Regions from separate parts of the Homo sapiens genome. Here all the other regions are linked to region 1. The links are contacts of gene promoters, found by promoter capture Hi-C in human tissues and cell types (Jung and others, 2019). All regions are on one chromosome and are shown on one strand. The core of a region is centred on a gene start or on the middle of the fragment in contact, and the rest is flanking DNA. Distances in the headings are between cores, read along the strand shown. Region 1 holds the start of PKNOX1 (PBX/knotted 1 homeobox 1). Region 2 holds the start of AGPAT3 (1-acylglycerol-3-phosphate O-acyltransferase 3). Region 3 overlaps RRP1B (ribosomal RNA processing 1B). Region 4 overlaps HSF2BP (heat shock transcription factor 2 binding protein).

What was found. The method cuts DNA at HindIII sites, captures the fragments that hold promoters and counts their contacts. A contact is called where the count stands out against the background at its distance.
Region 2: the fragment with the promoter of AGPAT3 here is called in contact with the fragment with the promoter of PKNOX1 in region 1 in 2 of the 25 tissues and cell types used here (heart left ventricle and heart right ventricle).
Region 3: a fragment that was not itself captured here is called in contact with the fragment with the promoter of PKNOX1 in region 1 in 1 of the 25 tissues and cell types used here (lymphoblastoid cells).
Region 4: a fragment that was not itself captured here is called in contact with the fragment with the promoter of PKNOX1 in region 1 in 1 of the 25 tissues and cell types used here (spleen).

What each region holds. Positions count from the first base shown.
Region 1 is chr21:42,970,022-42,977,900 of GRCh38, forward strand. PKNOX1 (PBX/knotted 1 homeobox 1) reads left to right here and starts at 4,541. Exons shown (of 11, transcript NM_004571.5): 1 at 4,541-4,643. RefSeq lists enhancers at 1,458-2,217, 5,340-6,066 and silencers at 3,729-3,888, 4,199-4,588, 4,719-5,038, 5,179-5,378. The HindIII fragment of the contact is 23,812 bases long and covers 1-7,879 here.
Region 2 is chr21:43,860,178-43,868,056 of GRCh38, forward strand. It overlaps AGPAT3 (1-acylglycerol-3-phosphate O-acyltransferase 3), which reads left to right and starts at 5,046. Exons shown (of 10, transcript NM_020132.5): 1 at 5,046-5,168. RefSeq lists a cis regulatory region at 473-970 and silencers at 4,105-4,464, 5,015-5,364, 5,485-5,804. The HindIII fragment of the contact is 11,781 bases long and covers 1-7,720 here.
Region 3 is chr21:43,685,299-43,693,177 of GRCh38, forward strand. RRP1B (ribosomal RNA processing 1B) reads left to right here. Exons shown (of 16, transcript NM_015056.3): 11 at 472-491; 12 at 1,506-1,637; 13 at 2,218-2,942; 14 at 4,990-5,142; 15 at 6,141-6,204. Among named protein-coding and RNA genes, the nearest start is that of RRP1B, 30 kb to the left of the region's middle. RefSeq lists a silencer at 2,818-2,947. The HindIII fragment of the contact is 4,062 bases long and covers 1,240-5,301 here.
Region 4 is chr21:43,640,198-43,648,076 of GRCh38, forward strand. It overlaps HSF2BP (heat shock transcription factor 2 binding protein), which reads right to left. Exons shown (of 9, transcript NM_007031.2): 4 at 4,092-4,195. Among named protein-coding and RNA genes, the nearest start is that of HSF2BP, 15 kb to the right of the region's middle. The HindIII fragment of the contact is 5,547 bases long and covers 2,208-7,754 here.

The DNA.
Region 1 (7,879 bases), core at 3,291-5,790:
CCTCAGCCTCCCAAGTAGCTGGGATTACAGGCGCCTGCCACCATGCCCATCTAATTTTTTTGTATTTTTAGTAGAGAAGGGGTTTCACCATGTTGGTCAGGCTGGTCTCAAACTGCTAACCTCGTGATTCACCCGCTTCGGCCTTCCAAAGTGCTGGGATTACAGGCGTGAGCCACTGATCCTGGCAATTTTTGTATTTTTAGTAGAATCGGGGTTTCACCATGTTGCCCAGGCCAAGAGTTTGAGACCAGCCTGGTCAGCAAGGTGAAATCCCGCCTCTACTAAAAATACAAAAATTAGCTGGGCATGGTGGCGGGCACCTGTAATCTGAGCTACTTGGGAGGCTGAGGTAGAAGAATTGCTTGAACCCAGCAGGCAGAGGCTGCAGTGAGCCAAGATCATGCTAGTGCACTTCAGCCTGGGTGATATAGCAAGACTCCATCTCAAAAAAAAAAAAATTAACAAATATTATAGAAAACATGTTGTAAAGAAAATAGAATGGCTGCTTATTTGAATTAAAATGTACCTGTTTTTTTTTCTTTCTTTTTTTTTTTGAGACGGAGTCTTGCTCTTTCGCCCAGGCTGGAGTGCAGTGGCGCGATCTCTGCTCACTGCAAGCTCTGCCTCCTGGGTTCACGCCATTCTCCTGCCTCAGCCTCCCGAGTAGCTGGGACTACAGGCGTCTGCCACCACGCCCGGCTAATTTTTTGTATTTTTAGTAGAGAGGGGGTTTCACCCTGTTAGCCAGGATGGTCTCGATCTCCTGACCTCGTGATCCGCCCACCTCGGCCTCCCAAAGTGCTGGGATTACAGGCGTGAGCCACTGAGCCCGGTCTGTTTTTTTTTCTTTAGAAACCACTTCGGTGCTCAACACCGGGAAGAGGGCCCCCATGGCCACACAGGTGTGGTTGGAGGCAAAGGTGGATTCACAGGGAAGCAAATGAGTCTTCACCCCCTCTAAAGCCCCATACCTACCTCACTTTGAATTATTTTCCTAAAGACTCCTCACAGTATGCAAGTTTCAGGGCCCAGCAAACTTTGCCCATCCCTGGAGGAGGAGACTACTGATAGTGCATCTGTCAGGGGCATTTGAACCAAAGCGACTCCATCTTGAATAGCGACTGGGTAAAATAAGACTGAGACCTATTGGGCTGCGTTTCCAGGAGGTTAAGGCATTCTTAGTCACAGGGAGAGATAGGAGGACACAAGACACAGGTCACAAAGACCTTGCTGATAAAACAGGTAAAGAAGCCGGCCAAATCCCACCAAAACCAAGATGAGGATGAAAGTGACTGCTGGTCGTCCTCACTGCTCATTATATGCTAATTATAATACATTAGCATGCTAAAAGACACTCCCACCACTGTCAGGACAGTTTACAAATGCCATGGCAATGGCAGGAGGTTACCCTATATGGCCTAAAAAGGGGAGGAACCCTCAGTTCCCACCCCTGTTCAGGAAACCTCATGAATAACCCACCCTGTGTTTAGCATATAATCAAGAGCTAACAATATATGTATAAGCTGCCGGGGGAGGAAGGCAGGGCAGGAAAGAAAAACAAGCAAGCAAACAAACAAAAAGTATAAGCAACTGAGCAGCCACGCCACTGGTGGGCCTATGGAGTAGCTGTTCTTTTATTCCTTTGCTTTCTTAATAAACTTGCTTTCAGTTTATGGACTTGCCCTGAGTTCTTTCTTGCTCAAGATCCAAGAATCCCCTCTTGGGGTCTGGATCAAGACCCCCTTTCTGGCAACACATCCCGGCCTTTCCCCCTTTTCTGAAGACAGACTTCAGAAATGAAGAAAAAGAAGGGTGGCCGCTCATGGTGGGTGAAACGGCAAAGCAGCTGGCAGAGAAGGCACCTAGCTGATGACCCCAGAGTCTTCTGGGCCCAGAGTGGGATGGCAGGGCCTGGGCTTCTGTCTGCCCTGGACTTGCTGCAGCTGCTTCCTGGGCTCTGGGTGACCATGCGCTCAGGTCCTCCTGTGGAACTCCTGCTGTCTCACAGGCCAGATGCAAATAAATGAAAGCTTCAGACCGGGGGCAGGTGTAGGTGTGGCCAGTGAGCCCCGGGCTGCTTCCAGGGGCCTGAACAGCATGTCACAGGGCCCCTGCCCCTGCTGAGAAGGGCCCAGGCTTGGGGTAAGGTTCTGCTGTCACTGCCTTGAAATTCTTCACTGTAATTTCTGAGCCAGGGACTTTGTCTTACTGGAATGGGGTCTCAATCCAGATCCCAAGAGAGGGTTCTTGGAGTTTACACAAGAAAGAATTCAGGGAGAATCCACAGAGTAAAGTGAAAGTGAGTTTGTTAGAGAAGTAAATAAACCAAAGAATGGCTACTCCATAGGCAGAGCAGCCCCAAGGGCTGCTGGTTGGCTATTTTTATGGTCCTTTTTTTTTTCCCTAGAATCCGTTCCTGAATTATATTGGTTATTTCTTGATCACGTGCTAAACAAGGGGTGGATTATTCATGAGTTTTCTGGGAAAGTGGTGGGGAATTCCCAGAACTTAGGCTTCCTCTTCCATTTATTTATTTATTTATTGGAGATGGAGTCTTGCTCGTTGCCCAGGCTGGAGTGCAATGGCGTGATCTCGGCTCACTGCAACCTTTGCTTCCCAGGTTCAAGCGATTCTCCTGCCTCAGCCTCCCAAGTAGCTGGGACTACAGGTGTATGCCACCACGCCTGCTTAATTTTTTGGTATTTTTAGTAGAGATGGGGTTTCACCATATTGGCCATGCTGGTCTCAACTCCTGACCTCAAGTAATCTGCCCGCCTTGGCCTCCCCAAAGTGCTGGGATTACTGGCGTGAGCCACTGCGCCCGACCCCTTTTAGGCAATGTAGGGTATCTTCCAAACGTTGCCATGGCATTTGAAAACTGTCATGGCGCTGGCGAGAGTGTGTTTTACCAAGCTCATATATTATAATTAGTGTATAATCAGCAGTGAGGAAGGCCACAGGTCACTTTCCCCGCCATCTTGGTTTTGGTGGGATTTGGCCGGCTTCTTTACTGCATCCTGTTTTATCAGCAGGATCCTTGTGACCTGTGTCTTGTTCCGACCTCCTATCTCATCCGATTACTAAGAACGCCTTAACTCCTGGGGGGTGCGGCCCAGCAGGTCTCAGCTTCAGTTTACCCAGCCCATGTGGAGTCTCTCTGTTCCAACACCTATTGACACTTGCATCTGGATCTTGCACTAGGCTCTGCAGATTATGCTCAGTCTTGAATACTGAGCTTTTTTTGTCCCCTTGAACTTCCCTCCTTGGGCAAGTATCTCAGGGCCTCCCTCTTGCCCACCCTGCTGCTTCCCATCTTTCTGAAAGAGGCGGCTCTGCAGCTGCACAGCACTTGGCCAAGACCTCCTGGCGGTGTGGAGCTCTGAAGACACAGGAGGGATGTCCTCCGAGCTGTTCATGCCTAGACCTACCCCCAGGCTCCCTCTAGCAATCAGCTCCAGTCCTGGGCCTGTCTGCCTTCCGGGAGGAGTGGGGGCCCACAGAGCTGCCCTTCCCGCGCTGTGTATGGACTCAAGGCACTGATGGCCTTCGGTGGGCCACTGCATAAATGGATGTTTCTGCAGTATTGAAGGCCAGTCAGGCAAACCGTGTGCTTTCCTACGCAGTGGGGAATGTGTCGCCCTTTCCTTACATCTTGGAGACCAAAGCCACCATCTGCACTTGTGGGTACATTGTGGCAGTGGTCGGTTAGGGTGGTCTTTCAAAGCAGTTTGAAATGCAGACACTTGTGGGCGTCCCCTAAGGCAGGTGCCCTTTACCTGGAGGCCGCATTGGTCACCTAGACCCGCAAGGCTCACCTGGGCCGGAAGGTGTGGTCAAGCGAGGCCAAGTAGCCCAGAGGCCACCCCTAAGCACCTGTGGACATCATGAGTCCTTGCTGGGGTCCTCACAGAGGGAAGACAGCCCCCAGGGTAAAGCCTCAGGTGCTAAGCACTCGCGCTGCCGCAGGGGGGGAGGCACGTGAGCATCCACTGTGCCGCCCAGGACGGGCCCACCCGGGCTCCAGAGCCTGGGGAGGAAGGCTGCGAGGCTCCCACGGGCTTACATTCAAACCGGGCACACACAGAACGGAGGCCTTCGGCTACGGGACGCCCGGCGGTGGGGTTACGGATGGTACAGCCCTCCCTCCCCGCCTGCTCGAGGCAAATGGTTTCGCCCGGCTACACACACCTCTCCTGGGCGGCAACCGAGGGCGCGGAGGGGGCAAGACGTGCGCTGAGGCCACGCCCCTACTGCATAGTCATAAGGCGGGAGGCTCTGCCTTCGGGGCGGGGCAGACAGCTCCTCGCGCTCGGGCGCGGCCGGTTGGGGGCACGGCCTAGCTCCGGGTGCGGGCGGGGCTGGAGGCGGGGCCGGCCACCGCCCGGTTCCCGCCCTCGCTCTCCTCCCCCAGCGATCAGGCCCCGCCCCGCGCCCGCCGCCGCGCAGGGAGGGGCGGGGCCCGTCTCCGGCAGGCCCCGCCCCCTCTCTGAATATTGATGCGGCGCGCGTCGGCGTCGCCCTCCTCCCATTGAGCGAGGCTGTGTCGCGTGGCCCAGCGTCGGCGTGACGGTTGGACGCGGGCGCGGCACTGCGGGTCCCGATTGCTGCAGCCGCTTGTCAGTGTGATGAAGATTGGCACCCAGGTAAGCTGTCACTCAACCGCTCCGCCGCCGCCGCCGCCGCTCTCGCCGCCGCCGTCCCTATCAATCACACCGGCCCGCGGCCGCCGCCCGCCGCCGCCGCTGCCGCCCGGGTCTGGAGGGCCGGCGCTGCCCTCGAGGGCCCGCATTTGACCCGCCGCCCGGGGCAGGGGGCGGGGAGGGGGCGCGGGTGGGGGAGGGGAGCGGGCACCCGCGGGGGAGGGGGCGCCTTCAGCCCAACCGGCGCGGGGGCGCGCCCAGTTGGTTTCTTAGTGTGGGTTGAGGGACGCGGAAATTTCTGGAAGGCGCCGCCGCCGCCGCGCTGGGCCTGATCGAAGCGCGCGCTCCTAACCGTCCCTTTCGGAGTGCGGCGCGCGCCCCGGCGCGGGGCGGGGGCGCGCGGAGCCCGGCGCGGGCGGGGCGGCGGGCGTGAGGGTCGGGGGCGCGCGGCGGGGCGGGGCCGGGGCGGGCGGCGCGCGTGGGGCCGGTCGGGTCCGCGGCCTCGCGGAGTCCTCAGGGCCGGCGGGGCTGCTCGGAGGGTGCGGGGCGCGCGGCGGCGCAGGCGGGAAGATGGCGGCCGCGACCCCGGCCCCGGCCTCGGCCGTGGCGAGCGGGTGGGTCGGGGTCCTGGGGGCGGTGGGCGTGATGGGGCTCGTGGCCCTCAGCCGGGCGCCGGCGCGGGAGCAGCCCAGGGCCGCTCGCTGACGGCAGTGTTTGGGGCCGGGTGCTGGGGAAGCGGTTCCGGCGTCCCGGGAATTGGTGGGAAGAGCCGCTTCTGTCACACGGGTCGTGGTAATGGATGACAGGAAGTGCCGGGCAGGGTCTGGGCGCCCTGTGGGTTTGCACCTTCCTTGTGAGGGAAATCGTGTCACTTAACGAAAAATGAAGAAACGCGGAGTCTGCTTTATGTCATCCTCGTGGCTCTCGAAATGCCTTATTTGGACAGTGGCTCTGCGACGGGACCAGTTAGGGCCTCCGTTCCGATGGCGGATTCCTGACGGGAGGCCCGAGGGTCCGGGAATGGCGGCGTCCTGAGGTCGGGCCCAGGGCAGGCCAGGCTGAGCGCCACGGCGGGGCCGCAGCCCTGGGGGGTGTTCCACCTGTGTGTGGGGTTCTCTTCCAACTCTACGAGAGTTTGCTTTTTAAAACAGTAGATGATTTTTCCTTAGGAAGTGGTTCCTCTTCAGGATGAAAGAAACCCCCAGCTTTAGTTAGGTCTACTTTCATGATTTTTCCTGGCATACTGAAAAATAGGCTTTCTCTAAACATAAGGAAGAATCGAGGTGAAATGTGAACCTCTGCCAGTATAGTTATTGGTGATGCTCTTGCATTTAGTCATAATTTGGAAGATGGCAGGCTGACCCCAATGAGCCTTTCATCACTCTGCTTAATTTACTTAGAGTGATTTGTGAATCCTGTCCTTGTACACAGGCGTACCTCAGATAATTCGAGTTCTAATCCAGACCACCGCAGTAAAATAAGTATTGCAGTAAAGCAAGTGACGCAACAGTTTTAGGTTTTTCAGTGCATATGAAAGTTGTAATTACAGTATACTACTTAAAGTGTGCAATAGCAAGCATTATATCTATAAAAATGTGCTTACGTTAATTAAAAAATATTTTAGTGCTAAAAATACTAATGATCATCTGAGCCTTTAGTGAGTCCTGCTTGTTTTATACTTTGACAATCTGGCCTCAGTGTGGATGGCTGCTGACTGATCAGGGTGGTGGTGGCTGTGTCAGTTACTTAAAATAAGACAACAGTGAAATTTACTGCATTGATGGACTCCTCCTTTCATGAAAGACTTCTTTGTAGCATGTGATGCTGTTTTGATAGCATTTTAACCACAGTGAAAATTCTTTCAAAGTTGGAGGCTATTCTCAAACTCTGCCACTGCTATCCACTAAGTTGATGTGATATTCCAAATGTTTTGTTGTCATTTCCACAATGTGCACAGCGTCTTCACTAGGAATAAATTCCATTTCAAGAAACCACTTTCTTTGCTCATCCGTAAGAAGCAACTGTTCATTATTTCCACCACATCTGCAGTTCCTTCCTCCACTGAAGTCTTGAACTCCTCCAAGTCATCATAAGGGTTAGAATCAACTTCTTCCAAACTCCTGTTAATGTTATTTGACTTCCTTCCATGAATCATGAATGGCATCTAGAATGGCAGATTCTTTCCAGAAGGTTTTCAGTTTACTTTGCCCAGATTCATGCGAGGAATCACTACCACAGCTATAGCCTTACAAAATGTATTTCTTAAATAATTAAGACTTGAAAGTCAAGATTACTCCTTGGATCCATAGCTGCAGAATGGATGTGGTGTTAGCAGACATGAAGACAGCATTCATCTCCTTGTGTACATCTCCATCAGAGCCCTTGGGTGACTAGGTACATTGTCAGTGAACGGTAATATTTTGAAAGAAATCTTTTTCTGAGCAGTGGATCTCAACAGTGGGTTTAAAATATTCAGTAATGTGTTATTCCATTTCCAGAGCACAGGCAAGAGTAGACGTAACATAATTCTTCAGAACCCTAGGATTTTCAGAATGGTCAAAGACCACTGGCTTCAGCTTAAAGTCACCAGTGACATTTGCCCCTAACAAGAGAGCCAGCTTGCCCTTTGAAACTAAGCACTGAGTTCTCTCTAGGTATGAAAGTCCTAGATGTCATCTCCTTCCAAAGGAAGTCTTTTGTCTATATTGAAAATCTGCTTTTTCGTCTCGCTGCCTTCATCAATGATCTTAGCTAGACCTGGATAACCTGGTGTTGCTTTTCTGTTAGGTAGCACTTGCTGCTTCACCTTGTACTTTCGTGTTATGGGGACAGCTTCTTTCCTTAAACCTCATGAACCAGCCTCTGCTGCTTCCAACTTTTTTTTTTTTTTTTTTTTTTTTTTTGAGATGGATTTTCACTCTTGTTGCCCAAGCTGGAGAGCAATGGCGTGATCTCGGCTCACTGCAACCTCCACCTCCCGGGTTCAAGCGATTCTCCTGCCTCAGCCTCCGTAGTAGCTGGGAGTACAGGCAGCTGCCACCACATACAGCTAATTTTTTGTATTTTTAGTAGAGACGGGCTCTACTAAATGTTAGCTAGGCTGGGACTTCTGACCTCAGGTGATCCACCTGCCTCAGCCTCTCAAAGTGCTGGGATTACAGGGGTGAGCTGCCGTGCCTGGCTCCAACTTTTCTTCTGCATCTTCCTCACCTCTCTCAGCCTTCATAGAATTGAAGAAA
Region 2 (7,879 bases), core at 3,796-6,295, 890 kb after region 1:
ATGGCAACAATCTCACCGGACTCAGCGCCTCCAGACTGAACTCAGTTTCTCAAGAATCATTTCCAGGGGTGAGGTCTTAGTGCACCCAGGGTTTCTAATCTCTTTGCTGTGAAAGATCTTGTTTATAATTTTTGCCTCTGTGGAAGTCTATGTTTAAAAAATAATGTGTCTCCTAGGAAAAAAAGCTTTTGTTTGCATTGTTTTCCTATTACCTATTAGCCAAAAATAGTTAACGTCCATCCAGTAGAGATTAGTATCCACATGCCGGAGTTCGTGTATTTACAGCAAAGTTATTATCTTTCGTTTTGGTAAACTTTTACATCTGAGATAAATATAGAGTTGTCTTTGGGCTTTTAAGAATGCCGGAGTTACCCCGAGGGCCCCTGGCTCTCCCGGCATCCTCTTGGAGATCAGGGAAATCTGGGTGGGAACCTCCTCATTTTACAAAAAAAGAAACTAAGACCAAATGGGTAACGTCGTTGTTTAAGGTCACAGGCTGGCGCTGAGCCTTGGCTCTCAGCTCCCCTGGCAGTCGCGCGACTCAGCGTCCAGCCCTACCTGCTCCAGGGCCCTCCCTACTGCCAGCCGCTGCCTGTCCTCTCCCCTGACCTGCCTTGAGCCAGACTGGGCCCCCTGGGCCTTGGGCAGGGCTGGATGGGCAAGTTGTCCAATGAGGCCCCCTCAGAACTGGAAAGCCTCCTTCTGGGTGTGGAGGTGGGCAGCAATCTGCCATTTGGCCCTGGGGTCATCTCTCTGGCTCAGTTTGCTTATCTGTGAGCCCAGATGTCGGCAAGTTCAGGCTGAGAATTAGAGCAAATAATGAAGAGGGAGCCCCTTTCCCAGGGCCTGGCTCATATGCACCGTGGACAACAAATACCAAAAAGGCTGGGCACGTGGCTCACACCCGGAATCTCAGCACTCTGGGAGGCCGAGGTGGGTGGATCACTTGACGTCAGGAGTTCGAGACCAGCCTGGCCAACATGGTGAAACCCCACCACTACTAAAAATACAAAGATTAGCCGGGCGTGGTGGCAGGTGCCTGTCATCCCAGCTACTCTGGTGGCTGAATGAGGCAGAAGAATTGCTGGAACCCAGGAGGCGGAGGCTGCAGTGAGCCAAGATCGTGCCACTGCACTCCAGCCTGGGCGACAGAGCAAGTCTCTGTCTCAAACAAACAAATAAACAAAAAAACTACTTTTCTTCTTTTCATTCCTAGCAAAAATCCCCTCTCTGGACAAATACTACTCAAGGTCAGAATCTCCCTTTGCCCCCAGTTTTTCATTGAGGAGGCTGAGGATCTGAGTCTCTCTCTTTTTTTTTTTTTTGAGATCCAATCCAGTCTCACTCTGTTGCCCAGGCAGGAGTGCAATGGCATGATCTTGGCTCACCACGAGTCTCTTTCTTAATAACCAACCCCATTACCGGGTCAGGAGAAGCTGCTGCGCTGTGGCTGCATCAGGGCCTAGAGCCGGGCTGCCTGCCTCTGCTGCCCTGTGTGCTGGCGGATAAGGTAGGGAGGTTTGTTATGCCTCAGTTTCCTTAAAGGTAAAATGGGGTGTCAGTCGTCTCTACCTTGTGGCCTGGTTTTGGTTAATGAACTAATCTACACACATAACAAGGGCTCAACAAAGGTTAGCGATGACGTTTCCTGCCAATCTGAGCACCTGCACACTGGAACCCTGTAAACAGTTGAGGGTGGGTGGCTGACTTCCAGTTCCCTTCAAATGCTTCTCTGAGTGTCTGCGCACCTGCGGCTCTCCAGGGGCTCGACTCAGGTCTCAGTGATCACAGATTCTAATGAAGAAAGGGTCTGTCTCTGTCATCCAGGCTGGAGTGCAGGGGGCACGTTCATGGCTCACTGCAGCCTCGACTCCCACCTAAGCCTCCTGAGTAGCTGAGACTACAGGTGTGCTGGACCACACCCAGCTAATTTTAATTTTGTTGCCCAGGCTGGTCTGTCAGTGAAGTTTTACACCAGTGAGACAAACATAATATTTGGGGCTCATCTAAAAGCTCAAAGTGAGGCTGAAGGAGCCATCCAATGTTTAAATGAAGAGGTACATCATAATTCATTTTTAATAAGTATGCAGAGCTGGGTGGCTCATGCCTCTAATCCTGGCATTTTGGGAGGCCAAGGTGAGAGGATCGTTGAAGCCAGGAGTCTGAGAGTGGCCTGGGTAACAGAATGAGACCCCATCTTTACTAAATAAATAATAAATAAATAAATAGCTGGGCGTGGTGGTGCATGCTTATAGCCCTAGCTATTTGAGAGGCTGAGGTGGGAGGATCCCTTCAGGGATCCTGCAGTGAGCTATGATCATACCACTGCACTCCTAGCCTGGGTGACGGGGGGACACCCTTTTTCTAATAGTAATAATAAATTATAAAATATATAAATTATAAAATGTGTGCTTATGATAAATCTAAACATTACTACCTAACATACATAGAAATTTTATTGTAATAAAATTTCTTTACCCTTGCCCATTCACTATCATATCTTCACAGAGCCTTCTGGACTTGTATCTGCCTATGTTGTTTTCTGTTTTTTTTTTTTTTTTATTTGTTTGTTTGTTTTGAGACAGAGTCTCGCTCTGTCGCCCAGGCCAGAGTGCAATGGCTAGATCTCAGCTCACTGCAACCTCTGCCTCCCGGGTTCAAGCAATTCTTCTGTCTCAGCCTTCTGAGTAACTAGGATTACAAGAGAGCACCAGCACGCCCAGCTAATTTTTGTATCTTGTTTTAGCAGAGGTGGAGTTTCACCATGGCTGGTCTGGAACCCCCGACCTCAAGTGATCCACCCGCCTTGGCCTCCCAAAGTGCTGGGATTACAGGTGTGAGCCACTGCATCTGGTCTTTTTTTTTTTTTTTTTTTTTGAGATAGAGTCTCACTGTGTCACCTAGGCTGGAGTGCAGTGGCACAATCTTGACTCACTGCAACCTCTGCCTCCCAGGTTCAAGCAGTTCTCTGCCTTAGCCTCCCGAGTAGCTGGGATTACAGGCGCCTGCACCACGCCAGGCTAATTTTTTTTTTGTATTTTTAGTAGATACGGGGTTTCACCATCTTGGCCAGTCTAGTCTTGAACTCCTGACCTCGTGATCCACCAGCCTCAGCCTCCCAAAGTGCTGGGATTACAGACAGGTGTGAGCCACCGTGCCTGGCCATTTTTTGTTTGTTTGTTTGTTTTAAATAAAGCACATCATTGTATATTCACTGCTCTGCACTATTTTTATTTTTTAATTTAACAGATCTTGGAGACTATATCCTATCTGTGTACACAGAATTATCACATCACAACTTTAGAAAATGTTTTAAATTAAAAATGCTAAATGAATGTTCTAGAGTTTATTTAACCAAGTGTCTGGTTGTTCTCAGGCTTCCTGTGATTATAGGTATAGCTGTAAGTCAGCACATCCCTGTATCCACACATCCCGTGGTGCCTGTGAGAATTTATCTGTGGCACAGATTACCCAAAATGACATGAGGGGTGAGAGGTTTTACAAATGGTGAATTCCACGAGCTTTGCAAATCTTAACTCCTTTTTCAAGAATAAGGGAACTGTGAGTAGGACAGGTGCACGGTACTTTCATTTTATTTTAGTCTAAGTATTTTCTGAAATAATTTGAGGAGGCTTAAAGGGAGGTGCAAGCTGGGTGCGGGGGCTCATACTTGTAATCCCAGCACTTTGAGAGGAGGAGGTGGGAGAATACTTGAGCTCAGGAGTTCGAGATCAGCCTGGGCAACACCGTGAGGCCCCATTTCTACAAAAAAAATTTTTTTTAAATTAGCCAGACATGGTGGTGTGTGCCTGTGGTCCCAGCTACTTGGGAGGCTGAGGTGGGAGGATCACTTGAGCCCTGGAGTTCAAGGCTTCAGCGAGCTATGATTGTACCACTGCACTCCAGGGTGGGCGACAGAGCAAGACCCTGTCTCAATAATAATAAAAATAAAAAAAAAAAAAAGGAAAAAAAGGGGCACAGTAGACAGTACCAGTACTTGGTATTTTAAATGGTTTTCAAATGAAGCCCACCCAAGCTCAGCAAGTCCAGCCGGGGCCTGAGGACCTGAGCAGGCGCCAGGTCACACAAGGTACCGGGCGCAGGAGGCGGAGCCCGCAGCGGGCCCTGCCCTGACAGCGGCACCTGCGCGGCCTCCGCAGGTTCTGGGATCGGCCGCTGGCCAGGTGCAAGGGAGGGGGGACGGCAGCCGCTGTCCTGGGGCTGAGAGGGCTCCGCGGTCTGGAGGGGACGGCGTCAGCGCCCGCGGGGGTTCGCAGGGCAGCCCCGGGGCGACCCCCACCCCCGCCACGGTCAAGTGTCGATACAGTGTTGCCAGCCGGGTGCCAACTATGAATAAGTCCAAGGGCGCGGCACGTGGGCCGAAACGCGATCCTTCCGCGGAGCCGCTGCGCGCAGGGCCGTCCCCACCGAGCCCGCCGCGCGGCGACCCCTGACGGCGACCCTAAGCCCCGGCCGACCAGGGCAGGAGCTCGCGCGCGAAACTTCCCCGGCGCCCGCAGGAGACCCCGGCAGGGGAGATGGCGGGGCCCAGGCAGAGCTCGGAGGCCCCTCCCGGCCCCACCCCGCGCCCCGGCCCCCTCTGCCCCCGACCCGGTCCGGGGGAGCCCTCGCGGGACCCCAGCCTGGTCCTTCGCCGCCTCCCCCCGTTCAGCCCCGACCCCCCTGATCCCCGCGCCCCCCGCGGTCCCGGCCCGCCCCCTCCCCCAGCCCGGGCCCCAGCCCCGTCCGTTAGCGGATCCCACGCAGGCTCCGCGCCCGGCCCCGCCGGCGCCCTCGGCCCACACCTCTCTCCGCGCGCGTGTCCCGCCGTGTCGCCCCCGTGTCCCCTCCGCGTCCCCCCCCGCGCCGTCCCCCCGCGTCCCCCCCCGCGTCCTTCCCCCGTGTCCCCCCAGCGTGTCCCTCGGCCGCCCCGCGCGCGCCGGCGGAACTGTGGGATCGCCGCGCACAGGAAGTGGCGGCGGCGGCGCGGCCGAGGGCGGAGGGCGGAGGGCGGCGGGATGGGGGCCGGGGGCGGCGGGCGCCGCACTCGCTGAGGCCCCGACGCAGGGCCGGGCCGGGCCCAGGGCCGAGGAGCGCGGCGGCCAGAGCGGGGCCGCGGAGGCGACGCCGGGGACGCCCGCGCGACGAGCAGGTGGCGGCGGCTGCAGGTGAGCACCGAGGCCCCCACCCGAGGTCGGGCCGCCCCCCTCTTCCCCCACGCCCCGCCGCCGCCCGAGGTCGCCCTCCCGCCGCCGGAGGTCGCCCCTGCCCCAGCCGTCCGACCTCGGGCCGCCCGGGGCCCCGCGCCGCAATGGGCCGGCCGCGCTCCGCGGGGCGCGGGGCCTGGGAAGGCGCGGGGCCGGGAGGAGGTCTGGGCCCGGGTCCTGTGCGCCCCCCGCAACCCCGGCCTCCCCGGCGGCCTGGTCCAGCGCGAGGCCCCGGCCGCTTCCCGCAGCAGCCTCGGTGGCGCTGGGCCCAGCGGGGAGGCCCGGGGGTTCGGGGCGCCCGGGAGGGGCCCGGGCCGGGCCGAGGGAGGGCGAGTGGGTTCCCGCGGGGACGTCCCATCCCTCCGTCCTGGACTCTGCTCCGGGCCCCGCTCGGCTCCCCCGTGGACAGGACGCGCCCGCCGCCTGGTTTCGGGGCGCGGCGGACCCGGGACCCCCCCCAGGGGCCTCCTCCTCGCGCGCCCAGGCCAAGGGAGCAGTTTCACTTTTGCCGCTCCGCGCGGGGAGGGCTGCGGGGCCCGGGGTTGGCTGTGGGTTCGGCCCGGAGACCGGCGGCGCGTTTGCACCGGGCGGGTCAGGGGATGGGGTCAGTCCGGGGGCAAGAGCCGTGGGGGCGAAAACCCACTCCTGGCCACCCCAGGACCCTTGGAACATTGGTCCCAAGTACTTAGGAAAGGAGGGTTATTAGTATTTGAAGGCAGTTAAAAATGGTGCAGTGTTTTTTTTTTTTTTTTTAACTTTGAGAGAAGTTTAGTGACATGGGGAAAATGCTTTTATAAATGGCTTCCCAGACCTTTAAAAAAAAAAAAGCACAATTTTAAAAGCTTTGTCTAGGAGAATACTTGAGCAGTTGGGTTCTTTTTCCTGGGAAACATGATCTTAGTAGAAGAAAGATGTGGGCTGTTGGCCTCCAGACAGAGGGTGATGAGCATGCGGCTCTTATTAAAAATGAAAGCCAACGCCGAGAGCCTGCTGGGGGCTGGGAGGTGGGGCGGGCGGCGGGCCCAGGCTGCTAGAGGGACCCAGGATCCTGCAGCTTTTAAATTGCAGGCGCGGCTGCTCCGACTCGACTCGCTTAGGAATTGCTGAACTTCGTCTTCTCAGTTTGAAAGCTTCAGAGGGGTCTCCCGAGGATGCTGAGCACTCTCTTGATTTGGCCACTTCTTTGCCGCCCCCCCTCCCTCTTTCCAACCAATCCTCCTCCCCCACAGAGTTCGGCGTTAGCCTGTGCCTGTTACAACTCGCTTCTTGTATCCATTTCTGGTTAGTCTTAAGTATCTTCTTGAGGACATTGTCTAAAAAGCAGCTGCATGCCATTGACATTCAGACAGAACAGGGCCCCTTGGCCTTAGAAGGTGTAGGGGCCTTAAATATTCTGAAGGTGACTTCATGGAGTGGCCGCCCTCTGTGGTCACCCTACCTGTGCGTGGCCCTGTCCTGGCGTATCTGCCAGGGGGACGCGCTGCAGCAGCCTGAAGACTGCTGGGTTAAAGGCAGTGTGGCCGGGTGGGAAAGTCCCCAGGAGTGTGGATTCTAGAACAGGCCTTCCTGGAGGGAGGGTGCTGCCCCGCCCCAGGCTGGGGCCCCAGTGCAGACTCCACGCTGGGGAGCTACACCCTGCGCCTGGACGCGCGTCTGTGTGCCAGGACTGGGGAAGCAAACTGAAAGTAATGGCTTTATTTTGGAAATTAGAAAAAGAGCATTCACCAAAGTAATCTGTTCCGTCCCTGCCGTAGACACGTGACTGATACACCTGCCTCCCATCCCCTCCGCACTTTGACCTCGTAAACAAGTGATCTGACACAACAGGGCTTGAGTTACTTGCCCGAGGTTGTGTCACGGAACGGCAGGGCCGCCTTTAGGCTTACATCCCTGGAACTCCCACCTCCACAGACCCGTCCGGGTGCTGAAAGTCCACGGATGCTATCCCTGGTCAAATCAGAGGTAGGTGGGAAATGTTGGAATTCTCCTAAACAGGGAAGGGGAAGATCAGAATGTGTGTTTGAGAAGAGCCTGATTTCCTGGATTCCTTTGGAGGAGGGGTGTCCTTAACTTGCCCAATCACATTTACCCTGTTCATCAATCTTCAGCCCCGCTTAGGCTCTCACATTGCAGACCCCACGGCAGAGCCCCTAGTGCTTGGCACTGAAGAGCCAGTGCAGGCCCGTTGTCACCATCAAAACCCACCTCTGGTAAATTCAATGGCTTCTGCTTCCACGCTTTGCCCCCCCTCTCTGGCCTTGTCAAAAACTCTTGTGATGTCCCTGTTATAAGGTATCGCCGGTGGACTGGTGTTTCTAGATCGCAGCGTGGGACGTGATTGGCTACATTTGACTGTTTCCTTTTTAATGACTTGTTTAATGTGAGATCTTTAGCTGCTCCATCTCATTGCAAGATTTTTGTTACAGTAAAGTTGGACTGAGTTTTCTAAAGACAGTTGCTCAGAAATTTCATGGGAATTTACTTTTGGTTAACCGAAGAGTGTTTGGGGTTTTAAACGGGTCGTTTCAAGTGGTAAAGTAACATGACCACGAGGCGTCTGTCCTTCCTAAAACCACTTCATCATAATTTCAAGATTGATTCTAAATTACCAATTTCAAAGCGCTGCATTTTAGGCAAGTGCATTAATCGTTCACCTTCTGACAGGCTTTCAT
Region 3 (7,879 bases), core at 2,021-4,520, 710 kb after region 1:
GCCATCCAGTGTCTCCTCCCCCATGCACCTCCCCACACTGCGCTTCGATGCGTCTTGTTTGTTCTAATGCACAAAAATTGTGTGAAGCAAAACATGGCTTCGCCTTTCTCCACTGGAGAATTGAATATGAGAGAGATCTAAGCTATTTCTGCCTTCAGAAACAAAAATTGAATTTCTTAGTTTGATTTGGGTGTGCCAAGATGCATCTTTGGCCCGCCGTGTCCTTGCTGGTATTGATGGTAACCGAGGGCGGCACTGGCCTTGAGCTTTTTGGCTTTTGTATTGCACCACCCTTCCCTCACAGAATTTCCTGTCTAGCCTCCCCTCCTGGAGGAGAACGTGAATTAACAACTATTTAACTATGGCTTGTATTTTAAAAATCAAATACATATGTCTACAGAAGACAGAAGGGATTTCTTTATGAACATTTGTTATTTTTTTATTTTTTATTTTTTATTTTTTTATTTTTAGATTCCAAGACCTTTCTGAAGGTGAGGCGCGCCAAGAATCATCATTCATGGTGTTTTTCGTGAATATGGACCCCACTGGGGGCGTTGATGCCAAACGCTGAGAAACAAGATTGAAAGAACTTTACTGAAAACCTCTGATAAGAAATAATAGTCCCTAGCCCAGGCAAAATAGCAAGGCCACATCTCTACTAAAAATGAAAAAATTAGCCAGGCGTGGTGGCGTGATCCTGTAGTCCCAGTCACTTGGGAGTCTAAGAGGGGAGGATCGCTTGAGCCCAGGAGGTCCAGGATGCAGTAAGTTGTAATCACACCACTGCACTCCAGCCTGGGTGACACAACAAGACCCCAACTTTTAAGAAAGACAGACCAGCCCTTACCTAGTCATACCGCAGTACAGCGTGGGAAGTGATGCAAGCCTAGGGCTCCCTGCAGCCTGCCCACCTTCCTATCCTGGGCTCTCCCTAACCACCAAAGCAAGAGGGCAGACTGCTCTCATGTGTGGGTACTGCGATGTTTTGGTTTGGTTTTTATTATTTTAACTAGATGGATTTTCAATGGCCTAGGAAGGTTTTAATTGGATACTCTATGAAGGTAAAAAATGTAATTTCTCAGGATCCCTTTCATTTGCTCTTATGGTCAATGGTCCCCCCGGGAAAGGCTGATGCTGTAAGCTTTGTTACATTTGGACAAGTCAGTGAAGTTACCCCATACCCGTCATTCACTAGGGACACTTGGAATTGGGAAAGGCACCAGCAAGCTGGTTGGAATGCAGAGACTGCATTAGCCAAGCGTCCGGGGTCCAGCCATGGAGGGTGTCACCGAGGGCTTGTGATCCCTTGCCTTGCCTTGGTTGAGAAATCCACAAAGCTTTTTTAAGTCTGTAATTCCTGTGTCAGCAGCGCTCAGGTTTGGGTGGGAGAAACGGTGAGGAACGATGATGATGAGGCAGAAATTGGGAGGGGTGCTGCTCTTAGGCCCCTGGGGCAGAGTCTTGAGCGCCTGGGGAAGCTAACAGTGTGTCACTCTGGCATCTAGGAAGCAGTATATCTCAACTCAGTTTTGCGGAGGACATTTCTGCTGATGAAGATGACCAAATCCTCAGTCAAGGAAAGCATAAGAAGAAAGGAAATAAACTTTTAGAGAAAACTAACTTGGAAAAGGAGAAAGGTAAGCTGTAAAGCTAAAAAGAAGGGCACGACTCAGCCCTTGGGGAGCGGCATGCACCATGGAGGCCTCGGAGACTTGAGCTCGTGCCGTCATAAAGCATTAGCAGAGCCCAAAGCTTCAGTCTTTAATGGCTGAGAGGTAAAGGCGGTTTTCCAAGTGTTGTGCTGTTTTTGGTGGAGCCGCGTCCCCACCTCACCCCGCTCACGTCCGCCTGCTCTCCAGGGCACCTCTGCAGGGAAGCAGGAGCTGCAGGGAGCACTGGGGGGCGGCTGTTTGATGACCACTCGAGATCTATGGTTTTTACCCTTGAGCCCTAAAATTAGTGGAAATGGGACTATTTCAGTTCCATATGTGTTTATAAACGGACAGAAGGAAGGCTTCCAGTCACAGTTGGGGATGGAGGAAGTGGGACCAGACGACAAAGGTAGTGGGCGCACCAAGTACCTCAAGGGAGACAGGAACTTTCCTCGTGGTAGAATGTCAGGAAATTGCGTCCGCCAGTCATACTGTCTGAGAATCGCCAGCAGGACTCTGGCCCAGCTGGCACTGGGTGCTTGTTGATGGGTTTCTGTCTTTTTAGGAAGCAGAGTCTTTTGTGTAGAGGAAGAGGACAGTGAAAGCAGTCTTCAAAAGAGAAGAAGGAAGAAGAAGAAGAAGCACCACCTGCAGCCTGAAAATCCAGGCCCAGGGGGTGCAGCCCCATCCCTGGAACAGAACCGGGGCAGGGAGCCCGAGGCCTCTGGGCTGAAAGCCCTGAAGGCACGTGTGGCCGAGCCAGGTGCAGAGGCCACGTCCAGCACTGGGGAGGAGAGTGGCTCCGAGCATCCTCCAGCCGTCCCCATGCACAATAAAAGGAAACGGCCACGGAAGAAGAGCCCGAGGGCCCACAGGGAAATGTTGGAATCAGCAGTGTTGCCCCCAGAGGACATGTCTCAGAGTGGCCCGAGTGGCAGTCATCCTCAGGGACCTAGAGGGTCCCCGACAGGTGGAGCCCAACTCCTAAAAAGGAAGCGGAAACTTGGAGTTGTGCCCGTCAATGGCAGTGGCCTGTCCACGCCGGCCTGGCCTCCATTGCAGCAGGAAGGCCCTCCCACAGGCCCCGCAGAGGGGGCGAACAGCCACACCACGCTGCCCCAGCGCAGGAGGCTGCAGAAAAAGAAGGCAGGGCCCGGCAGCCTGGAGCTCTGTGGCCTGCCCAGCCAGAAAACAGCAAGTTTGAAAAAGAGGAAGAAAATGAGAGTGATGTCAAACTTGGTGGAGCACAACGGGGTGCTGGAGTCCGAAGCTGGGCAACCCCAGGCTCTGGTAAGGTGGGAGCACCCACAGGCCAGCTCGCCACAGAGGCACTCACTCGCGTCCATGGGGCTCCACTGCCTCCTGAGAGGAAGGGTGGGGGCTGGCGGCCAGGCCTCTGGACTCAGCAGCAGTTAGAATAGGGTGTGTTCATAACAGCCTTCACTAAGGAGGAAATCACAGGTGACCAGTACTTCGGTCCTCCTCATCGGCCACCTTCACTCCCTTAGGCCACATGCTTGGGTTCGGGAGGGCCCACTCCAAGCTGGGAAAGTTATCCCTTGGGCCAGGCACTCCTGCCCCAGGCGTGTTCAGGCCAGTCTAGGCCTCTGTCAAAGGCAGGTCTGGTTTTCTTCATCAGCGCATGGCCAGTCCAGGCCCCTTTGGCAAAAGAGGAAGCCCAAAATTCTCTTGCTTCACTCACCTTCTTTTCTATATTCTTTTCTTTTCTTAGCTTCCCCCCTACCCCCCAGCTCAAGAAACTTCACTAGCAGGACCACTTATCTTCTTAATGGAAAGACTTTCCTTCCACTTTGATTTCTAGAGCCAGATATAAATGAGGAACCAAGCTGTTGATCTGGTCTTGGGTCTGGCTGTGTCACCCAGGCTGGAGTGCGGTGGCACAATCTCGGCTCACTGCAACCTCCACCTCCCAGGTTCAAGCGATTCTTCTGCCTCTGCCTCCCAAGTAGCTGGAATTACAGATACACATCACCATGCCCAGCTAATTTTTGTTATTTTTGTAGAGACAGAGTTTTGCCTTGTTGCCCAGGCTGGGCTCAAGCAGTCCACCTGCCTCGGCCTCCCAAAGTGCGGGATTACAGGCGAGAGCCCCCGCGCCTGGCCCTGATCCGCTTTTCACACCACCTCTGGGCGCCCTGGGCTTCCAGGCCAGGGCCGGCAAACGTAGTGTCACTGCAACAGAGCCACATCCACTTGTATGTGCAGGTCTGTGGCCACTTTCATGCTGCAGCGGCAGAGGGGAGTGGTAGAGACAGAGACCTGCGGTCTGTAAAGCAGAAAATAACTCTGCCCTTCACAGAGTTTGCGCACCTTGGTCACCTCTTGGTTTGCACACACCGCTTTGCGGAGATTATGACATCTCTTGTTTAAGTGGACATGTGTGGACCTGGTGAAGCGCTGGTTTGGGGCTAAGAGTGTCTGCAAGTGGCTAGTGAGTGAGTTTATGGTCAGGAAAGCCTTACCCAGGGGCAGCAGTGCACTGAGCTGGACGGCAGGAGGCCCATTTCTAGCCTCGAGTCTCTCCTACCTCACAGTGCCGCCATCTCCTCCCTGGACTGCAGCCTGCCCCTCGTACCCTCAGCGCTGCTCCCTCACTAAGAGGGCCAGAGACATTGCCTTTCTTGCTGTCGTCTCAGGCCCCTGGCAGCCTATTGTAAAGAGGATGGGGTGTTGCTCAATAAGTCCCAGGGTCAAGGGAAGCTTTCCCCTGCCATCTGTCATGGCACAGGGAAGGCGCACAGGAGAAGCTCCTCGGGCTTCCCTGCCCTCCAGGCGGCACACTTGAACCTGCCGGAGCCACCCGTGTGTCGGCAGCGGCACTGGGCTGCCCACACCTCTGAGAGCCAAGTACGAGACCCGGTCTCTCTCTGGGTGGCTGTCAGTTGCTGCACACGCAATGAGTGTCCTGGGCCTGCCTGTGAGGGACCCACAGCCCCACATGGGCATCACTGTCCTCCACACCAGACTGCCAGCGCAGTGACGATTCAGCTACAAATGGGAGAGTCGATCTTATTAACAGATCGGCTTTGAAAGGCCAAAATCCCCATTTTGAAGATGAAGATAAAAGTGGGTCCTTACTCTGACGAGGCGTTTTCATCGCCCCTCTTGGCATGGTGCCATGATAGCGGTCGTGTTGTGCGTGAAGCCTGAGCTCTGCCGAATGGAAGGGCTGTCTGCAAGTGCGGTGCGGAAGACCGCGGGCCGTCGGGTGGGCTGGATCTGCCTGGGGCTCTGCCTTCCCCTCCTGTGTGTGTGGGCAGCACAGGAGGCTCTGTCGTCTGACCCCTCCTCCGCTTCTCACCCCTCGCTCACGTAGGGAAGCAGTGGGACTTGCAGTTCCCTGAAGAAGCAGAAGCTGAGGGCAGAGAGCGACTTTGTGAAGTTTGACACCCCCTTCTTACCAAAGCCCCTGTTCTTCAGAAGAGCCAAGAGCAGCACTGCCACCCACCCTCCAGGCCCTGCCGTCCAGGTACGCACCCTCCCCAGAGTGGCACAGCACATTTCACCACAAGGGCACAGATGGGCTTGAGCTGACAGTGCTTCCCATGCCGGGCCTGGAGCCCCACTGTGGCCCTCTGAGCCTGTCCACAGTGGACAGGTTCCACGGCCAGGGTAGCATAAGGTCTGAGTGGTCTGGGACCCACCCTGAGGGATCACAGTCAGGAAGGGGACTTTGAGGGGCGGTTGATCCACACATTCTGCCTCCCAGGGCTTCCGGCTCAGGGTTTGCAGAAACCAGTTTTCTCTCGTGAAATGTCACAGTGTTAAACACAAGTGGTGCAAGTCAGCAGTAGGAGGTCCACACAGAAATGTGGGTCAGAGCAGGAACTTGAGGCAGTGCTTCCTGATGCAGGCTGGATCCACTTCCAGGAATGTAAGTAGGAAAGAAGATAGTTGATTGTGGTGAACTGTTGGGATATGCAGATAGCTCAGAGTCCTTGTGCACAAAAAGCTGGAAACTGTGTGTCCATTGTCCATTGCAGTGAGATTCCATCATAGGCATCGTCTCATCGATGTCATAGAGTCTTCAAGTTAGAAGTTCAGAACTCTCCAGCAAAAGGCAGGGGAGTCTTGGCATTTTTCCTCACGGGTTCTCAGTGGTGAACTGTTTTTAGGACAGTTCAGGCATCCTCTCTGTTTGCCTTTCTTCCCTGGATCGTAGAACCCTGCAGCGGTAATGAGGCAGTGACCGCAGATGGGCCAAGAGTGTGGGCACCACTGACCCTGGGCTGGGGGGTTGCGTGTGTGGGACGCTGGGAAGGACAAAGGGCGGTCCTGGTGAAGCCCCGACAGGAGGGTCGGTTTCAGTCTTGGCCGCAGTCCCTTTGGCCTCTCCCTATATGTGCCACTCAGTAAGCAGCAGTGTGGGCGGCATACCCTCCAGGGCAGGTTCTCCAGAAAAATCTGACTAAGCGCCTCCACTGCACTTGCGTCACTCCTTTTGTTCCTGTTATTTCTCTTCTGCAGCTAAACAAGACACCATCCAGCTCCAAGAAAGTCACCTTTGGGCTGAACAGAAACATGACTGCCGGTAAGTGGGGTTTTGCCAGCGGCAAGCTTCTCTGGAGCACAGCTGCAGCTCCTGGCGCGGCTCGCAGCCTGGTTCCACAAGGCGGTCGGGGAAGAGGGGGGTCCTAGCTCCTCACTGCCCATTTCTTTATTTTTATTTTTTTTTTTTTTTTGAGACAGAGTCTCGCTGCTCTGTCACCCAGGCTGCAGTGCAGTGGCGAGATCTTGGCTCACTGCAACCTCCGCCCCCCCAGGTTCAAGCGATTCTCCTGCCTCAGGCTGCCGGGTAGCGGGTAGCTGGGATCACAGGTGCACGCCATCACATCCAGCTAATTTTTGTATTTTTAGTAAAGATGGAGTTTCACCATGTCAGCCAGGCTGGTCTCAAACTCCTGACCTCAGGTGATCTGCCTGCCTCGGCCTCCCAAAGATCTGGGATTACAAGCGTGAGCCACCGAGCCCGGCCCCTCACTGCCCATTTCTGAGTCAGAAGGAAGCACCTATGTGTCTGTCCCTCATCCTCAAAGGGCTGTGAGTGGGGTGCCAGTGGTGAGTGGGCAGCCAATTGCCTGGGACCTGTTAAGAGAAGCTACCTGGTGAGACGTGATCCAAAAAGCCGTTTTCCCAAGTGTCTTTCTAAATACTGAAAGCCGTCCCATAGAGAGGCCATTTGAGATCGTAGTGCTCCATCAGCTGTAGCTGTCTCTCTGCGAAACTTCGGAACCACTTGCTTCTTGGGCGACAGAGAAGGGTAACCCCTATCTTCCTACTTTTCATATTGGTGCCATCCATTCGAGTTGCTTTTACAAAGGAAACCAAAGTTTTAAAAAGTAGTATAGGCCAGGCGCGGTGGCTCATGCCTGTAATCCCAACACTTTGGGAGGCCAAGGTGGGCAGATCATGAGGTCAGGAGTTCGAGACCAGCCTGGCCAACATGGTAAAACCCCGTCTCTACTAAAAATACAAAAATTACCTGGGCGTAGTGGCAAGCACCTGTAGTCTCAGCTGCTCGAGAGGCTGAGGCAGGAGAATTGCTTGAACCCAGGAGATGGAGGTTGCAGTGAGCCAAGATCGTTTCACTGCACTCCAGCCTGGGTGACAGGCTGGGTGAGACTCCATCTCAAAAAAAAAAAAAAAGTATTATAACGAATTTAGGACCTGACTCTTGTTGGGAACTGCAAGTAATAGAGAGTATGTGTATGTGTGAGTGTGTGTACATGCACCAGTATATATGTGTGTGTGCGTGTGCATGCACACATGCGTGAGTGTGTATGTTTAGGGAGAAGAGACTCTGAGAGACTGAGGAGCTCACCCAGCCTTTACAACTGGAGAAAATGAACAGTACGAATCCTGCAGCTCCACATAGCACAGATTTGTCCCAGACACAAATGCCTGGTTCACTCATTGTCCAAAACACCCCCACCCCCAATGTTCACCCTTCCAGGAGCCACCCTACCAGCAGCTCCCCTTAGTCTGTGCAGGCAGCCCTGGGCCCTCCCTTGGGAGGGTGAGTTGAGGCATGGGATGTGGCCTCACTGCCCTCCTTTCCTCAGAAGGCTCTTGGGCCTGCTCTCTGCAGGGCCTTGAGATGGCCCTGCTTCGTCCTAGCAAGTGGGTGGGGTCGGCACCCAGGCAGGACGCTGTCTAAGGTGTTGAAGGGACAGCTGTCGGACCCACTTAATATGGGGCCTTGCTCT
Region 4 (7,879 bases), core at 3,731-6,230, 670 kb after region 1:
GGCTGACATGGGAGGACTGCTTTGGCCCAGGAGGTCAAGGATGCTGTGAGCCATGATCCTGCCACTGCATGTCACTGCCTGGGTGACACAGTGAGACTCTGTCTCAAGGAAAAGTCAGTCGCAAAAGGTTATTCTACGTTATGACATTCTTGAGATAACAAAATTAGAGATGGAAAATGTATTAGTGATTGCCAGGGGCAAGGCAGAGGGAATGGGGTGGATGTGGCTATAAAGGGGTAGCACCAAGGAGCCTTACGGCAATGGTACAGTTCCAAGTGTGGTGGTGGTTACATGAATCTACAAATGTCATAAAATTGCACAGAACTATGTACATACATGCACACACAAATGAGTACATACAGAATTGATGAAATACAAAGAAGTCCAGGTGAAACTGGTGAAACCTGAAAGTTGTTAATTGTACCAATTCCAATTTCCTGGTTTTTATCTTCTACTATAGTTACGCAAGATATCACCACTAGGGAAAACCGGGTGAAGGGTATAGATAACTTCCCTGGACTTTTTGAAACTTCTAGTGAATCTATAAGTAAACACAAAAAAATTTTTTTGTTTCCAGTGGGATTGGACCAAAAAATTTTAACCAAAAAAAAAAAAGCTGTATAAATTTACTAAAAACTATCAAACTATACAATTACAATGCAAAAAAATTTTTGTGGTACAAAATATACCTCAATAATGCTGTTTTAAAGAAACAATAATCAAACCCTGATATATTTTCCTGTTTAAAGGAATACTCATACATAACAGTTTATCAAGCACAAAACTCCCAAGATTTCCTCAATATCTTTCTGTAGTTCATTCTGTATTTTAGCTTAACTACAATTTTTCTTTTAAAAGTTTCTTGGCTCACTGCAAGCTCCGCCTCCCAGGTTCACGCCATTCTCCTGCCTCAGCCTCCCGAGTAGCTGGGACTACAGGCGCCCACCACCACGCCTGGCTAATTTTTTGTATTTTCTTTTTTTAGTAGAAACGGGGTTTCACCGTGTTAGCCAGAATGGTCTCGATCTCCTGACCTTATGATCCGCCCACCTCAGCCTCCCAAAGTGCTGGGATTACAGGCGTGAGCCACCGCGCCCGGCCAATATTCTCCAACAGTTGTGCCTTTACCAGGAAGCTGGGATCTTTTTCCTCTAAAGTTCAAACGTTGCTACTGCCAGGACTCTTTCCTGGCCCAGCCTCCTCACATCATAAGCAGGTATCAAGACCCAGTGCACCTCCTCCACTGACCCAACAAAATCTCTGTGGAGGAAACATCTCCACCATGGCCAGGAACAAAGTCTTCCTTGTTTGAGTAGCCTTTCTCTAGGGGTTCAGAAGCTGCTTGCTCATACATCACACTTTATGATTTGGGTTCCATACTTTGTTTCTGACCTTTTCTTACATATTGAACTCAATAACTTCTGCCTTTTCCTAGTAATTTTTCACTCATACAGAAGTACTTACTAGCAGCCAGGCACGGTGGCTCACGCCTGTAAACCCAGCACTTTGGGAGACCAAAGTGGATGGATCACCTGAGGTCAGGAGTTCAAGACCAGCCTGGCCAACATGGCGAAACCTCATCTCTACTAAAAATACAAAAATTAGCCAGGCATGGTGGCACGTGCCTGTAATCCCAGGTATCCAGGAGGTGGAGGTTGCAGTGAGCTGAGATTGTGCCACTGCACTCCAGCCTGGACGACAGAGCAAGACTCTGTCTCAAAAAAAAAAAAAAAAAAGTACTTACTAGCAGTAATCTAATTGAGGATCTAGTCTCTGGATTCTTTCCTGGGTCCTCAATTCTATAATAAGTTTCCAGGGCCAGGTGCAGTGGCCCATGCCTGTAATCCCAGCATTTTGGGAGGCCCAAAGCAGGAGGATCACTTGAGCCCAGGAGTTGAAGACCAACTTGGGCAACATAGTGAGACCCCATCTCTATAAAAAAATTTTAAAAATTGTTTTAAAAATTATACAATAGAATTGTTCTTGTAAAAAATAAAAATTAATTAATTAATTAAATTTAGCTGGATGTCATGGCACATCTCTGTAGTCCCAGCCACTCTGGAGGCCAAGGAGGAGGATCGCTTAAGCCCAGGAGGTCGAAGCTACTGCAACTATTATTGCACCACTGCACTCCAGCCTGGCAACAGAGCAACACCCTGTCTCAAAAAATAAATAAATAAATAAAATAAGTTTCTAGAGTCCCTCCTCATGATCCGTACAGGCCTCAACAGAGACTACAGCAAAGGCTACAGATAAGGCAGCTGCTAGAAGAGAAATGGCCTTGTTACAGCAACCTTGCAGGAGCTTTCCTCTGTATTCACCTTACAGGAGCTTCCCTCTGTATTCACCTTGCAGGAGCTTCCCTCTGCATTCACCTTGCAGGGGCTTCCCTCTGTATTCACCTTGCAGGGGCTTCCCTCTATATTAAATTGGACTATTCAACAAGATTTTTAACTATAAATAGGGAATAGTTGGGTAAAATATTCCCACATTTTAAGGTCAAAGTTCCAGGGCAACAAAACCCTAGCGATTTCAATGCTACTTTACCATGGCTGTTTCCTTCTTCTCAGTATGCATTTACTGGAATGGCTTCTTTTCTTTTTTTTTTTTTTTTTTTTTTGAGACAGAGTCTCGCTCTGTTGCCCAGGCTGGAGTGCAGTGGCACGATTTCGGCTCACTGCAACCTCCACCTCCCAGGTTCAAGCAATTCTCCTGCCTCAGCCAGGCTGGTCTCGAACTCCTGACCGCAAGCGAACCGCCCACCCTGGCCTCCCAAAGTGCTGGGATTACAGGCTTGAGCCACTGTACCTGGCCTGTTAGTACTATTATCATCCAAAATAAAAATATATCCAGGCCCCAAATTTTATAAAAAGTGTCAGAATAGTTCTAGTTCTATGGAAAAGGAAGTTATGCCACACAAAAAGTTAAACTAAGCAATTTTTAAGAAATATTAGTTTCTCTAATATTTATATAAAATATAACTGGCTAAAATGTAATAATCCCCAAATTAATTACATGTACTTCTGATTTAATACATCTATGTCCAACTATAAGATATTATGTACATGATTTTTTCCTCCGAGACTCTCATCGCTATGGTTTGTCCCCCTGCAAACTCATGTTGAAATTTGATCCCCAATGTGGCACTCTTGAGAGGTGGGGCCTAGTGAGAGGTGTATGGGTCATGGGAGTGGATTCCTCATGAAGCGATTAATGTGCTCTCTGGAGGGTGAGTGAGTTCTTGCTCTCACAGGAATGGATTAGTTTCCCTGAGAGCAGGTTGGTAAAGAGTCTGGCTTCCTCAGTTTCTCTCTCTTGCTTTCTCTCATCATGTGATCTCGTCACACAGCCAGCTCCCCTTCTGTCATGATTTGAAGCAGCCTGAGGCCCTCACCAGAAAAAGATGCCCAATCTTGAACCTTCCAGCCACCAAAATCTTGACATAAATAAACCTCTTTTCTTTATAAATTACTCAGCCTCGCCGGGCGTGATGGCTCACGCCTGTAATCCCAGCCCTTTGGGAGGCTGAGGCGGGCAGATCAAGAGGTCTGGAGATCGAGACCATCCTGGCTAACACAATGAAACCCCGTCTCTACTAAAAATACAAAAACTTAGCCGGCCGTGGTGGCGGCCACCTGTCCCATCTACTCGGGAGGCTGAGGCAGGGGAATGGCGTGAACCCAGGAGGCGGAGCTTGCAGTGAGCCGAGATTGCACCACTGCACTCCAGCCTGGGCGACAGAGCAAGACTCTGTCTCAAAAAAAAAAAGGAAAAAAAAAATTAATTACTCAGTATCAGATATTTTGTTATAGCAACACAAAATGAACTAAGATAATTATGAACCTTTATGTTGTAGGGCAGATTTTTAAACATAAAAGTTAAAAGATACCAAGTGAATGATCTACGTGTTAAATGGTTATAAAATCCATCTGTTCAACTACATTCCAACCCACTCAGAATACATACATTTACAAATACAATTTATTGAGGATTAAGAGTAAAAAATTCAGTCCCACTGCTTATCATAAGTGAAAGGCTGTAAGCCAGCCCCACTTTCTGGCTTGGTGAGAGTCTGTCCCTGAGCATGGTACCTTCTTCTCTCTTATGTTGTCGGCCTGCACGGTTTCCAGGCGGGCTTTAAAGTGCTCACAATCCATTTTCAGCTGCTCTAATTCTTGCTCTTTCCTTTCCAGGTCTAGGAGAAAGACATAAAATTACTCAAGATATTTCAAGTCACTAATCTCTCCCTAAGCATCTATTTTGCCCAGTCTTGACTTAGTAAAATGTGTACTGATTTCTTAGGTGAGAATATTTGCATTTCTTGACTTCTAGCCTGTCCTTGAATAACCAATATTCTAACAGTCCTGTTCTCTAAGTTCATCTCAGTTTTTAGCCCACAGCACAAAGGACTTTGGTTGTTTTCTGTTTTGTGTTTTTAAGGTTTCACTTTACTGCCAGACTAGTACTCAAGGCTTCAAGAAAACATGTTATTTAAAGGATGGAAGGCAGAGCTGAGAAGCCCGACTGTCTCATGGCACAGACTTGTCGCTACTCCATGAAAAGCAGAAGGCAGCTCAGGGAGTGCACGGCGCCAGCACAGGCTGATTCACAAAGCTAGTGTCACCCACTGGCAGACTGACTCAATGGGAACAACTGCAGTAGTAGGCACTGGAGGAGGGAAAGAACAGTGATAAAAATGAGAAAATGCTATAGTGAAAGAGTGGAAACTATGTAATACTTCCTCTCCACCGCACTCATTTAGTTGATGAGTCAACAACAGCCAACAAAAATCCCAAAAAAATCCACGTCAATAAATCAAGCAAAAGTACTATCAACTTTAAATTTAAAATTTTATGTTGCAGAAATACTGACACTCGAAAAAACAAATATATAATACAAATTTTTAAGTGTTTGATCTCAAAAGCTAGGAAATCATCAGTTTTTATGCCAACATATACCAAGATTTGAGGGTGCTAAGAGCTAATGGTCTAACTTCTTTGATTAAAGTAGCGATGCTTTAGGACAATGATTCTCAAACTTTAGCGTACATCAGAATCCCTGGAGGACTTGATAATACAGAGTCGGCTGGGTTCCATCCACAGTTTCCAATTTGGAACGTCTGGGGTGAGCCTGAGAATTTACATTTCTAACAAGTTCCCAGATGAGACTCATGCTGCCTGTCTGGGACCCACACTTTGAGAACTACTTCTGGGCGATAACCTGGTCTCTCATCACCAATAAAATAAAATGAACATGCAACACATGACCAGCAACAGCAAACAAGGGAACCCATCCACAGGAATGTGAAAAAGCAAAAAAATGGAGAGTAATGGAAGGCAGCTACCTAATATTTGTCACATGAAGGAATTTCACTTCTTTACACATTCCCTCTCCTAATCCTTGAACTGAGAAAAACACAAGGCAACTCTGGTTATCTGTTTCATTCTTGTACTGTCACTTGCGATGAGTGAGAAAGCCTCAAAGAGCCAGGCGCCTGGAAAACGGAACATTACTCCACCCTAGAGGAGAAAAAGCTCACAGACACTTCCTCAACTATCTGCAAACAAACGAGAAGCGGGTAGGGCTTTCGAATCTAGGGGTCTGAGAGGACAAGAGGAAGCCAGAATAAGACACTTGTGGGGACTGCTTAGAACCACACGTGTATCCCCAAAGCTCTAAAGGAAATGTTAAAAAGGAAGGAAGAAAGCAAGCTAGTCTCTAAATTTTCTAGAGACCCCGTCCTAGAAGAAAAATTAGAACCTAAAAGTAAATATTCAGACCAGCTAAACATCATAAAATTGGCTGGCAAAGCTTCTCATAAAATGCGTTTCTTAGGGGCCCGGCTCGGTGGCTTATGCCTGTGTAATTACAGCACTTTGGAAAGCTGAGGTGGGAGGATCACTTGAGGCCAGGAGTTCGAGACCAGCCAGGGTAAGACTCCCATCTCTTAAAAAAAAAAAAAAAAAAGTGGTTCTCAGAAATAGAGCAGAGTGCCTTTGGACTATTTCCTCTCCCTCAAATCACAGTTTCATTTTCTGCTCTTTTAAGAAATATTGTGCCACAATGACTTTCACTGGAATTCTTGATTTTATCCTAATCCCAGCCAAAAAATCAACTAGGAAGCACTATGCTTTAAAAACTACATACTTGCATTATTTGTAACAAAGTTAAATGGAAATACATTATTTATACACATACACACTACAATCATATGAAATACCACCTATGGTCACAGACAAAAATGAACAAACTGAAAAACTGAGATGAAATTTGTGATTTAAAATTTTTTCTTTGCATTTAACTGTTAAATTTGGCTTCTACTATTAAACGGTATATTACTCAAACATGGTAAAAGAGACAGGAAATCTCTACAAGCCTTATCATGTGTAAAAACCTGTGGGAATTAACTTTGACCACCCAAAACGGCTCTCTTGCATTACGGTAATTTCATAATCACTTGTTCCAGACAGCTGTATGCAACCCTAGTGTAAGTTAACATACCAAAGGGACAGGGTTAAAACATCCCACTCTACGATAGGCAATCTCATAGAATTCCAGTCAGTCATCAGGGAGGCCACACCCATCTACGCCAGGCTCCTGGGGAGGTGACAAGTGCCCTTCTGCTGTATGAGGCCGCCACCTTGTGGCCAGATGGGAGCATTGCTGCTGCCTCGGAACAGAACCCTGACCTTGCATTTTCAACTTGGCCCCACTGCATGCATGCTACCTAAAAGCACCCTGAAGGCAGGGATTTGCATAGGTTTTCTTCTATGCCCACCCTCCAAATGTCTATATGGAATATAGTAGGCAATACATAAATATTTGTCACATAAATTTATTTCACTTCTTTATACATTCCTTCTGCTAATCTTTGAACCAAGAAAAACACATGGCTACTTTATCTGTATGTCTCATTCTCATACAATAAGAATATATTACTTTTATATTTTTTTAAGCCCAGAGACAGAAATAATATGAACAGTGAATATTACAAACAACCTAAATCATAGACCATTTAAACATCTATGTATCTTCTGAAACAACAATTTTTTTTTTCCCCGAGACGGTGTCTCTCTGTCAGTGCAGTGGCACGATCTCAGCTCACTGCAACCAACGCCTCCCAGGTTCAAGTGATCCTCTTAACTCAGCCTCCCGAGTAGCTGGGACTACAGGCGCCTGCCACCAACCACGCCTGGCTAATTTTTGTATTTTTAGTAGAGATGGGGTTTCACTATGTTGGCCAGGCTGGTCTTGAACTCCTGACCTCAAGTGATCTGCCCATCTTGGCCTCCCAAAGTGCTGGGATTACAGGCGTGAGCTGCTGCACGCAGTCCATAATCCTTTCTTAATACAGGTCTAATAACATGAGAATGGCTGTGTCTCTTGATGCTCAATTTATTCACAGGGAGGGTACAGAAAGCTAGAAAGGAAAATAAGGGTTTCTAAAACACTAATCAAAGAAAACTGCACAAACGGCGTCAATTTATCTTACCATTTCTTTATCACCTGGTATGTGAGGTCAGGAGTTCAAGAGCAGCCTAGACAACATGGCAAAACCCCATCTCTACTAAAAATACAAAAATTAGCCCAGCGTGGTGGTACACGCCCATAGTCCCAGCTACTCGGGAGGCTGAGGTATGAGGACTGCTTGAACCTGGGAGGCGGAAGTTGCAGTGAGCCAAGATCACGCCAGTGCGCTCCAGCCTGGGCGACAGAGCAAGACTTCATCTCAAAAAAAAAAAAAAAAAAAAAAAACTAAAATCAATCTTGCTGAACTCAAATTAATTCTGTTGATTTCCCAAACCAGAGTCAGGGAATTTTGCTTTTCATTCACTGACACACATATATGACATGAACAGCAGAGCGGTCACGGGTGATA